Linked DNA regions of Homo sapiens: region 2 is linked to region 1. Evidence: promoter capture Hi-C in human tissues and cell types (Jung and others, 2019). All regions are on one chromosome and are shown on one strand. Each heading gives the region's core, a stretch centred on a gene start or on the middle of the fragment in contact. The rest is flanking DNA. Distances are from core to core; before and after follow the strand shown.

What was found. The method cuts DNA at HindIII sites, captures the fragments that hold promoters and counts their contacts. A contact is called where the count stands out against the background at its distance.
Region 2: a fragment that was not itself captured here is called in contact with the fragment with the promoter of EMX1 in region 1 in 1 of the 25 tissues and cell types used here (H1 embryonic stem cells).

Annotation. Positions count from the first base shown.
Region 1 is chr2:72,914,663-72,919,744 of GRCh38, reverse strand. It overlaps EMX1 (empty spiracles homeobox 1), which reads right to left and starts at 2,226. Exons shown (of 3, transcript NM_004097.3): 1 at 1,373-2,226. The coding sequence starts at 1,892. RefSeq lists silencers at 1,821-1,940, 2,011-2,430, 3,571-3,740 and enhancers at 2,245-2,861, 2,862-3,479. The HindIII fragment of the contact is 9,258 bases long and covers 1-5,082 here.
Region 2 is chr2:72,951,179-72,956,260 of GRCh38, reverse strand. All of the region lies in intron 13 of SFXN5 (sideroflexin 5), which reads left to right. Among named protein-coding and RNA genes, the nearest start is that of EMX1, 36 kb to the right of the region's middle. RefSeq lists a silencer at 2,103-2,272 and enhancers at 3,666-4,167, 4,168-4,669. The HindIII fragment of the contact is 8,875 bases long and covers 1-5,082 here.

The DNA of each region.
Region 1 (5,082 bases), core at 977-3,476:
AGGAGGCAAGGCTACCCACAACAATTCTTATTCTAGTAATTACATTCTCTGGTTTTGTGGTATCTGCCAGGTCAGCATCTATTGGCCAGGTGGGACTGAAAAAATTGCCTGACAAATCGGGACCTGGGAAAGCGGTTTTCTGTGAAAGTCAAAGTGTCAAGAGATAATTTTCATTTTATTATCTAAACAACTGTGCCAAACATCTAATTGACTGTAGACCTAGACTACAGACCGTCACATTAGCTCCTGGAGCCGAAGCTCCAGCCATGTCCCTTTCATTTGTTTCTCTAAAAGCCGGGTTACCTAGCTCTGAGCCATAGACCCTTCTCACAAGGCTGTGGTCTGGTCTACACTAACAAAATAAAACTGGAAACTAAAGTGATGCCTGTACAAATCAAGGCCACTCTTTAAAATAAAATTTAAAAAAAAAGAAAAGAAAAAAACAAACTCCAACAAATTTCAAGGAAGAAAACGAACTCCAACAAATGCAACTCTCTTTTCTCCGGGAAAGACAAATAATTGAAACGTGTGTGTGTGTGTGTGTGTGTGTGTGTGTGTGTGTGTAGGGCCAGTGGAGGATCTTTATTAGCAAGCCGATTGCTGGATGCAAACTCCGGGGTTCGGACTGGCTACGACCTTAAAAGCCCTCTGCCCCCGCCCCCTGCCCGGGAAAACTGTCCTCGGTATTCCAGCAGCCGGGTGGGCTCCCTCCCGAAGGCGGCGAGCAACGGCGGAAGCCAGTTTGCTTACTGCAAACCTTCCCCACCTTGGGTAGGAGAGGCACGTGTGACTTGGAGAAGTCGGGCCAAGGTTGCCGAGAAACATCCCAAGACAGCCAGGCCCTCCACACTGAACATTAACTCTCCGATTCGCCCTCCCTGCTGCCCTTGCTTCCCCCAGAGCTGGGGCACGCGAATGGACTTTCCCCCGCCCGGACGCGCCAGCGAAGGCTGAGGTCTCGGAGGTGGTGGTGGACTTGCGAGAGAAGCGTGGTGCGAGGTTAAGCCGGGCGGAGGGAGAGCGGGAGGAGTTGTACTCTGGTCTGAGACTGGCTCAGCTGGGAGAGAGAATTGGGCAGGCTGTGGCGAGGGCCAGCACAGGCTCCGAGGACGCGCCTGGGCTTGCGTCCGAACTGGTATATTTTCTAGAAAAGCCTGGAGGTCTCCACCTGCTTTCCTGGGAGGGAGACCTACGCGGCGAAGGCGCGGGTGGATGCCGCACAGCTCTTCCCTGCCTGGGAATCTACCTCCGCGGACCTGCAGCCTTCCCGGCAGTAACTTCTAAACAGCCCCGCGCGCCCCCGAGCCTCCCCCGCATCGCCGCAGCACGGGCGCCGGCCGGCCGCCTCGGCGGGCACAGCGTGGACACTCACCCTGGAAGCGGTGGCCGAAGAAGCGGTTCCGCAGGACCCAGGGGTAGAAATGGAGAGGGTCCCGGTGCTGGGCGCCGAAGAAGGAGTGCGGGGGCTGCAGCGGGGAGGCGCCCAGCTGGTGCGCCGGATGCACGGTCAGCGCGGGGTGGTTCATGGCCTCGGGGAACACGAGCTCGGGCCCACCGTAGAGCGAGCGGCCCGCGCCCGCGGCGGCCGCGGCAGGGAAGCCACTCACGAAGGCCGCCTCGGCCGCGCTGGGGTGAGGGTAGTTGAGCGCCGTGGGCCGGAGCGGTTCCTCGGAGGCGGCCGCCGCCAGGAGATGGGAGCCCGCGCCCCCGCCGCCAGTGCCCCCGCCGGTGCCGCCGTCCTTGGCCACCAAGGACTCTATGGTAAAGCCGCGCTTGGCCGCGGGCTGGAACATGGTCGCAGCCGCGGGAGCTGTGCGAGGCAGCCGGGCTCTGGGGAGCGCTCCGCGTCCTGGCGCCGCCGCCTTGCGGGGTGTGCACCCAGCCAGGCACATGCACACCCGCCCGCACCCCTCACCTCCCCCGCCCGCCCGCTCGCGCTCGGCCCCCGCGGGCGAGCCAGGCGCGGAGCGGCGAGGGGTGTGTGAGCGAGCGACCGCGGGGTCCGGCCACAGCGTACGGCCAGGCGCGGCGGCTGCTGCGGCGGAGCGGGCAGCTCCAGGCGCCCGCACAGGCGCGGGCTCCGTGCTAGGCTGCGAGCTGCCAGTAAGGCCCGAGGGTTGAGCTCGTCTCCCTCCTTTCGGAGTCCCGCTGGGACCGACCCCAGCCCCCGGTGTCCCCGCACTGCCCTGCCCAGCCCCGGCCGCCCAGCGCTGCGAGGCGCGAGTTAGCGGGCACCTGCCCCGCGCTCGCCCATTGGCCGCCGCTCACCTGCCCCAAGGTGGGGGGCGGGGCGGGGCGGGGCGAGGGACGGCGGGTGGGGAGGGAGCCCGCAGTCGGAGGCAAAAGCCGGACTGGAGCCTTCGCGGGGAGATCCAGGCCTCCTCCTCCCCTCGCCACTGGCTTCTCCTCGCGACTCCGCCCTTTAGCTGAGTCTGGTGGCCGTGCCGCCGTCTCAACCCACGCGGGAGCCGAAGAAGGCGTCCGAAGGGCTTGGGGCTAAACTCCAACCCTCCCCTCCCCGGTGTGTAGCTCAGCCTAACTCTCCCATTCGTCCCGGGATGTCGTTTCAGTTCTCAGAGAACTTGGATCCGAGCGGAGGGTGGATGTTTGGGGTCCAACACATTGGTTTTCCCGAAAACCAGCTCTCTGCCCCCCTGCTCTCCGGGACTCTCCCACTCACCCACCATCGGCCTCCTGGGCCGCGGTCTGAAGCTGCGACCTTGTTCCTGAGGTTTCGCGTTTTCTGGATGTCACGGGGGACAGCTCTGGAAAGGGGACGCTCACTCCCTTCACAAGGGGCCAGGCGGGGCACTGCGCGGGAGAAGCCGCCGGAGCGGTCCCACTGCCACCCTCCAGCTGTTCGCGGGGCTGGAAGCAGCTCCAGTGCCCAGACACGGTGCCGCGACCGGCTTGGACCAGGACGGCGGGCCTCGGCACTGGGAGATCCACCCCCTCGCCTTCTCTGAGGCTCTGGGGGCTCAAGTGTCGGCGGGCCGGACCAGGTCAGGGCCTCGGAGACACTGTGGCTTAAATTGAAGCTGGCCAAGTAGCCCGAGCCCATCTCAAGAGAACACGCCAGCCGTCAGGACACGCAGAAGCAGCCTGACCTCCCTCGACCTTCACCTTCCACCCGCGACCGCGGAACCGCGGACGACTCTGCTCCGGCCAGTTTTTCCGTACGGCGGACGAATTCCCCGGGGGCAGTTCTCACGACAGGCTGTGAGAGCCGGGACTCCCCAAACTTTCCCACCCCACCTTCGAGGCCGCAGAAAGGCGCCGCTCCGAGGCCTAGGAGGGCGCGGGCGGCGGTGGGGAGGCTGGGACCTGGACCTTGCCGGCGCACTGCGGAGAGGGAGCCGCAGAGAGTTCCGCTTCCTCGCCGCTGCCGGGGTCCATTCTAGCGGCCTGAGCGCTGCCTGGGCGCGCAGATCTGGGTTGGGCCTCCTGACGCCCCAAGGCCACGGGGTCCGTGCGCCGCGCAACTCTGCGGGGACTCCAGGCCGGGTCTTGGCAGCGGCCCGCCTGAGCGCCGGGAGCCGTGGTTTGGAGAGCGCTCAGGGCGCCCCGGCCGCCACAAAGCGGGTTAAAGTCTATTTTCCACTCGACTGCTCCGAAAAGCCCCCGCGCGCCGACGCCGTTCCGGCCCCCTTGGGCGAGGTGGGGAGGGGCGGCCAGGGGTGGGGAGGCGAGGCGGCCGCACCCAGCACTCCTCCGCGTCCTGGGAACCCCGGGGCCTGGCACGGCTGAGACACCGCAGAGGCGCCTTCGGAAGGAATGATGGAATCCGTGGGGAGCGCGGGTTCTCGCTGGCCTCTCCGGAGATTTCCAGCTTTCTGTGATGGTCTTTTCCTCTCGTTTGTGTCTCAGGCTCTTTATTTTCCCCCTCTCCTGTCTCCCGGCTCCCCTACCTCCCGACTTTTCCTCCTCTGATTTCTTCCCCCTCCTCCTTTTCCCCACCCTCAGTCTGGGAAAAGTGGAAGCGCCGCCGAGGGGGGGACCAGGACCCGACCAGGCCGTATCTCTAAGGGGGCGGGGGTGCGGAGCTGGGCAGAGGTACAGAAGGAGATTTTCGTTCCATATGGAAGGAGACAACGACGGGATTTTGTTGGAACAAGGTTCCCACAGGGATGCGGGTTCAGTTGGGTAAACGTTGCCTGGGCCTGTGCTCTGCGGTGACAGAGCAAGTGCTGGGGGCTGAGACAAGACAGGAGCCCAGCAAGCTGAACCCGGCCCGAGGGCCTTGCGCTCCTAGCCTGGTAATGAATCCCACCCGTTCTGTCGCAGACCCCCACCGAGAGGCTGGCCAGGGGCCACGAACTTGTTTAACTGGGCAGGTAGAGAAGCTTGGAATCTACCGACCGTCCTAGACTTGCATCTACACTGGCCACCTCCTTTCATTCGTGTGGCTCTGGGTATACTTGTTCATATCTAAATCAATAGACCTTTTATTACACCACCTTCCCTTGTGAGGCATTCAAATGCTGACATTTCTACTCGGGAGGCTGAGACAGGAAGATCTCTCGAGCCCAGGAGGTCGAGGCTGCAGTGAGCCGTGATCATACCGCTGCACTCCAGCCTGGGCGATACAGGGAGATCCCATCTCTAAAACAAACAACAAAAAACGTTGACATCCAGCTGTCTGTCATTAACTCCACTTTACAGATGAAGAAACAGCGGAGGATCAGTAACTTGAGTCTGGTCACCGTCTTGGTTGGGCTGGGACAGCCCCGGGGTCCCAGCCTGGCCTAGCTTCCACTCCCATTCCATCCCTGTGAGGATGCAGTCGCAGACTTCCCGGGGGAGGGGGAGGGGGTGCTGGAATGCGCTGGGTGATAGGAGTTCCGTTTTCGTCCTCCCTCACCTTTTCCTCTCCCAGCGCCCCTTTCTGTCAGCTTCCTCTCCAGTAATTCCCTAATTTTCTTCCTTTTCTTCCATAGCTCTGCTTATCTTTATCCCTTGGCCAGTTTCCTCTATTTTCACTCCTCTTAGGACCTATTCTCTTGTCGTTTCCTCTGCAGCAAGTTAAGAGAAGAATTTGTCACCCTCAGGGGGTCTCTAAGCCTGCCTCTGTGTACTGGATTC
Region 2 (5,082 bases), core at 1,555-4,054, 36 kb before region 1:
ACAGGTCCTGGGCTCCCTTCTGGACCCCAGTCCTCTTGCCCATGCAGGGAGTACAGGGTCTGCCCTGGCGGATCTGGTGGATCTGGAGGTTACTGCTGTAGGCCTGCCCCACCAGCCTGTCCCCAAACATGGATGGGCCCATCACACCCAGAATCTGCTCTCTGCCCCATGGAGCCTGGGCACTTTCCCATTTTTCTTGTTACCAGGATGGCCACGTAGGACCCCTGTGGTCTCAGTGAATCTCCCCGCTGGTGGTGGAGACAAAACTCAATAAACAAGAACTGTCAGGTGACAGCACAGGTCATGATGGACCTAAAGCAGAGGCTGCGCGGCAGCTTGCCGGGGCCGCTATAGGTGGGGCTGGTGCTGGGTGCCTCCCTTGTGGTAGGGCCAGATTGTGGTGGCCTTTCTGGCCTTGCCCCCTTTGGTGATTGGGGCTCTGGATTCCAGGCAAATGGGGTCCTCTGTGTCCTCCCCACTGCAACACAGACATACACTGGGGCCTCAGGTTCCCTGAGGGAGATGTGCAGGGTCCAGTGTCCAGGAACACGGGCTTGGCTACCACAAGAGGCTGTAGTGGGTGGTGGCAAATGTCCCTCTAACTCTGACAGCCGGTGTTCCCTACCTGGGAGCACTTCCAATCCTGTTTAATGAACCTCATGTCTCTCTGGAGCAAGAAGCAGTACCTTGGCCAAGGCCCCTCCCCACATCCCTGCCTCTGTTTCTGCTTCAATCTTTCTTTGTGCCTCTTTCTCCCTTCCTTGATTCCTCTCGGGCTCTCCCCCACCGCAGTCCCCTCTCTTTTCCTCACTCTTCCCCTGGGAGCTCGGGGGCTGGGGAACGGGGCTGCACATACAAGCCGGAGCCATTGTTCAACAATCTGTTTTTGTCTTCATCTTGTTGGCAGGCGGCAGGAGAGGAGCAAAAGGTTAATGAGGCACTGTGCAGCGGGATTACTGCGTGAACGGGCGGGCGGCGGGCGGGCGAGCGAGCCAGCCGTGGTGACAGGGAACTAATTAGGAGCAGTTTAACAGGAGGAAAAAGTGAAATCTCCTCTTCACCAACTGTCAATAATTAGCTGATTTGGTGAGGTTGAAATGTGTCCACAGAAGGTGGGGCTTGTCTGTGGATGAGTGAGGTACGGGGAGCAGGGGGGCAGCCGGGAGCTCGAACCCATCCCTAGGTGATGTTGGGGTGGAGGGGCTGTCCCGTGGCCCCAAGGCCTGCCCTCTGCCCCTCTGGCTGGCATCCCTCTACCTCAACTCTCCATATGACCTTGGGTCTTAACCTCAAAGACCTCAGTTTCCCCAGCTGGAAGATGAGGTGTTGGAACTAAGTTTCTTCCTGTAAGAACCAAGTTTCTCCCAGTAGGATTAGGGAAGTGAAAACTCAAGACAGGGCCCTGGTGCTAGACAGTGGACTGAGTGAGTCCACTTGAGTTACATGCTGCCCCTCAGGTGCCCGGCCTGCAGCAAGGGTGTGCCCTCTGGGAGCCACCCTCTGGGAGCCATGTCTGGGCACGGCAAGTGGGCAGGGCCTTAGCCTTCCTGGGAACGTGTCTTATGGCCCCTAGACCCTCACTGGCTCCTTTGTCCTCCCTGCAGCTGTGGGGGCTGGGGTGGGGATGAGAGATTGGGTAGTGTGCTTCCTGGCTGGGGCTGCGGGCAGGGGAGAGGGCCCTGGGGCGCCCTTGTAGGGGCTGGCGGCTATGAGCGTGTGTCTCTTCCCTGCCTCAGCTGTTGCAGGGGCCCCTGGGGGCAGGAGTGAGGTTCACTGGCCAGGAGGCTTGTTTCCTGTGGGCCTGTTCCCTCCTGGCTGTCTTGTTGGTTTGTTGGCATCTGCCGTCTGCCTTCCCTGAAGCCTCAGCAGAGAACTGACCTCCCCCGGTACCCCCACCACCTGTTCCTGCCCCTTCTAGCTTTTGCCAAGCACCTCAACTAGAAGAAAAGACAGCCTAAGAGTCTCCCAGGGCCAGGGCTTCCTGCCCTGAGCCTCCCATGTCAGCCCTGGGAACTCCCCATGTCCCTCCCTCTCAGCTGAGCCCCTACTCACCTCAGCTCTAGAGGGTTCTGGGGATTAGAAGCCATGTTCTGAGGAAGTCTAAAGCCTTCCCCCGATGTCCTCAGCCCGTTATGAGCCTTGTCTCGTCCTGGCCTCAGAGGGTGGCTCTTACAGGCCACACCCATGTGGTAGACGAGGCAGGAAGGCCAACCTCAGCCACCCCATACTCCTTCCTGCCTCCCCACTTACAGCTTTCAGGGTTAAGAAACAGAGAGGCATACCCTCCCTGTATGGGCAAAAATGTGGGTACCCTCAGTGGGTACCAGAACCTCCACTATCTCTACCCTCTTACCAGCCCTGATGAAAATGGTGGTTTTGATGAACCAGCCTGGCTAAACAGCTGTGAGCCACCAGAAGCAAAGTCCCCCCAGCTTATCTTTCTTTGAGAAAGTATTGGGACCCCCAACCAAGAATGGAGAAGAGCTGGGAATAAGCTGGAATGTGAGTCCACATTCAAGCTGGTCTAGAAATGGCTCCTCCTCCAGGAAGTCCTCCCTGATCTTCCCCACTAAGATCTGTCTCACCTCACCTGTGTAGGCTCTGGTGGTGTGTTTTCTGTGTTCCATCTTCCCCCTTAGGACAGTAGACCTTTCTCCCTTCCATGACACAAGGTGTCCCTGTGGCAGAGAACTGGTGCCCTTTATCAACACCTAGTACAGAGCGTGGCTCATCTGGGTTCACCTTGACTTTGTTGGTCCCTGCTTCTCCCACTCTTCCAGGGTTGATGCGAGGCCAGAGACAATGTCTAGGGCACATTGCATCCCTCCTGAGTCTACAGCAGCATTCAGCGTCTCCCAGAGCAGGGGCCTCCTTCCCTCCAGTCTCAAATCCATCTCCTACTTTGCTTGGAGATGTTTGTTTGGGGTTTTTCTCATTTACTGGTTTAATCAGTCCCTACTGAACTCTAAAGTGGGCTATTTTTGCCGTCAGAAATCTGCTGCCTCCCCGCCCGCTGCTTTCTTGGAGTTTGCCCACAGGACCCCCCAGGAGGGATGGATGGGAATGGCAAAGCCGCTCAGAGCCCAGGAACGCCAACGCCACCTGTCATTTTGCCTGTTCCCCACACCCCCACCCCAAACCTGCGCGTGCACACAGGCTCGCACACATACACGTGCACGCAAGAACATGTACACATGCCCGGGTGGCAGGCCTCGGCGGGGCTGCCTGACAGCCTTTCCCCCACAGTTCTTTTTTCCAGGACCTTCCAGGACACCTAGCTGAATCCAGGATAGGGAGGGAGAAGGCTTGGTTGTGCAGAGCTTCCATTAAAGGCATTAATACATGCAAAGTGGAACATGCCTGGCCTGCAGCAAGGCTCAGCCCTGTGAGCTTAGTGAGTGGGGCTGGGGCTGAGTGTGGGGACCCTGGGTGCTGTCCTCTTTACACAGCATCACGCAGGTTTTCTAAGCCTCCAAAGGGCCATCCTATCCATTTTGTGATATAATCCTCGTGGCACCAGGAGATCTTAGAAAATCTTCCCATCATACATGTGGGGAAACTGAGGCCTCAAAGCTTAGAAGACAGAGGACAGAGAATGATTCTGAGATTGGTCCACCAGAGGGCACCCAGGAATGGTGCAAAGCTCCAAAATGGTAGGGGGCGGGGTGTGGTCTGAGCACTTGCTGGGAACACATAGCACAGGGGAGCCGGAAAAGTGTAAGACAGGATTCTTGCCCACGAGGCACTTCAGTGTCACTTAACTCAGCTGTTACTGAGGACCTACTGTGCACAAGGCATAGGGATACCGAGCTGCCTGGAGCGGCTCACAGTGGGGTGGGGCAGGGGACTACTGTAGTCACCCCTGTTTAGAGTGCAAATGAGCCTGTGCCTGGGGATGGGATGGAGATAAAAGCATGTGCTGGGGACACAGAGGCAGCAGCAATGGATTTGGTCTAAGAATATCAAGGGAGGCTTCCTGGAGGAGGCAGCCTTAGAGGGTCAGGATATAGCCTGGACTTAGGACTCAAAGCGTATACTTAGAATGTACAGAAAATGGACAGCAGTTGATGGGTGAAGAAGCTGGAAAAAGTCCCAGAAGGCCTGGAGTGTCCAGCTGAGGGTTCTTTCACTGAGAAGGTAGTGGGAGCCCAGAGCCAGCACCAGAGGCCTAACTCAGGGGTCCAGGGGTCTAGGCTTAGGCCTCAACTGCTCCCCAGCCCCAGCCTAATGCCTCTGCTCTCCAAAGACACTCAAGATAGCTCTCCCAAAGGTGGGGCCTGGATGTGTGTGTGTCGGAACAGGACATGGGGCCTGCCCAGCCCTGGTGAGAAAGGATGGGATGTTGTGCCCAGTGGACAAAGCGGTCCCAGGCCTGGCAGAGGCCTCAGGCACACAGGGTCAGCCAGGTGCCTGCTTGGGCTTTGGGCCCTGCGTCAATGTCGCCACCTTCTGCAGACCCTCAGAAGCCCAGACCTCTGCCCAGGAGCAGGTGGTGGCTTTGAGCTATGTCACAGGGTCACACCGAACACCCCACCCCCCCAGCCCCATGCCTTTGAAAAGGAGGCAGAAAAGCCATCAGAAGAAAGGCCAGCAGGAGGAAGTTCTTTGTAGTAGGTAAAAGCCCCCAAGAATGGGGCACAGGCAGGGGATCCAGTTTCCTGTTTATGTCTCCGCACCTTAGCTCCAGGTTCAAATATGTAAACTATCTGCTGGCCTGGCTGCAGGTGTGTGTGTGCTCCCAGGCTGTAGAGGCAGAGGTGGCCCCAAATGCATTCCTGACTCTAGCCCCCCACCCACAGTGAGGCAGGAGACAGAGACAAATAGCTCAAGGTTAACCCTTCCCACACCACAAGGGAAGGTGCTTGGCTATTCTAGCTGGGCCTTAGGGTGCCCGGGAGGCTGGGGAGACGCTGGATAGGATGCTCCATGTCTGGGGATATCTCCTGGAGGGGCAGCAAGGTCTGAGCGGGGTTGGGAAGATGGGGTGGCACTCTGATACGGAGAGGGGCACATCCCGAGGAGGCTGGCTGGGAGCTGGTGTGCAGGTTCTGCCTGGGAGTCAGGGAGCGCTAGCAGGGCGGC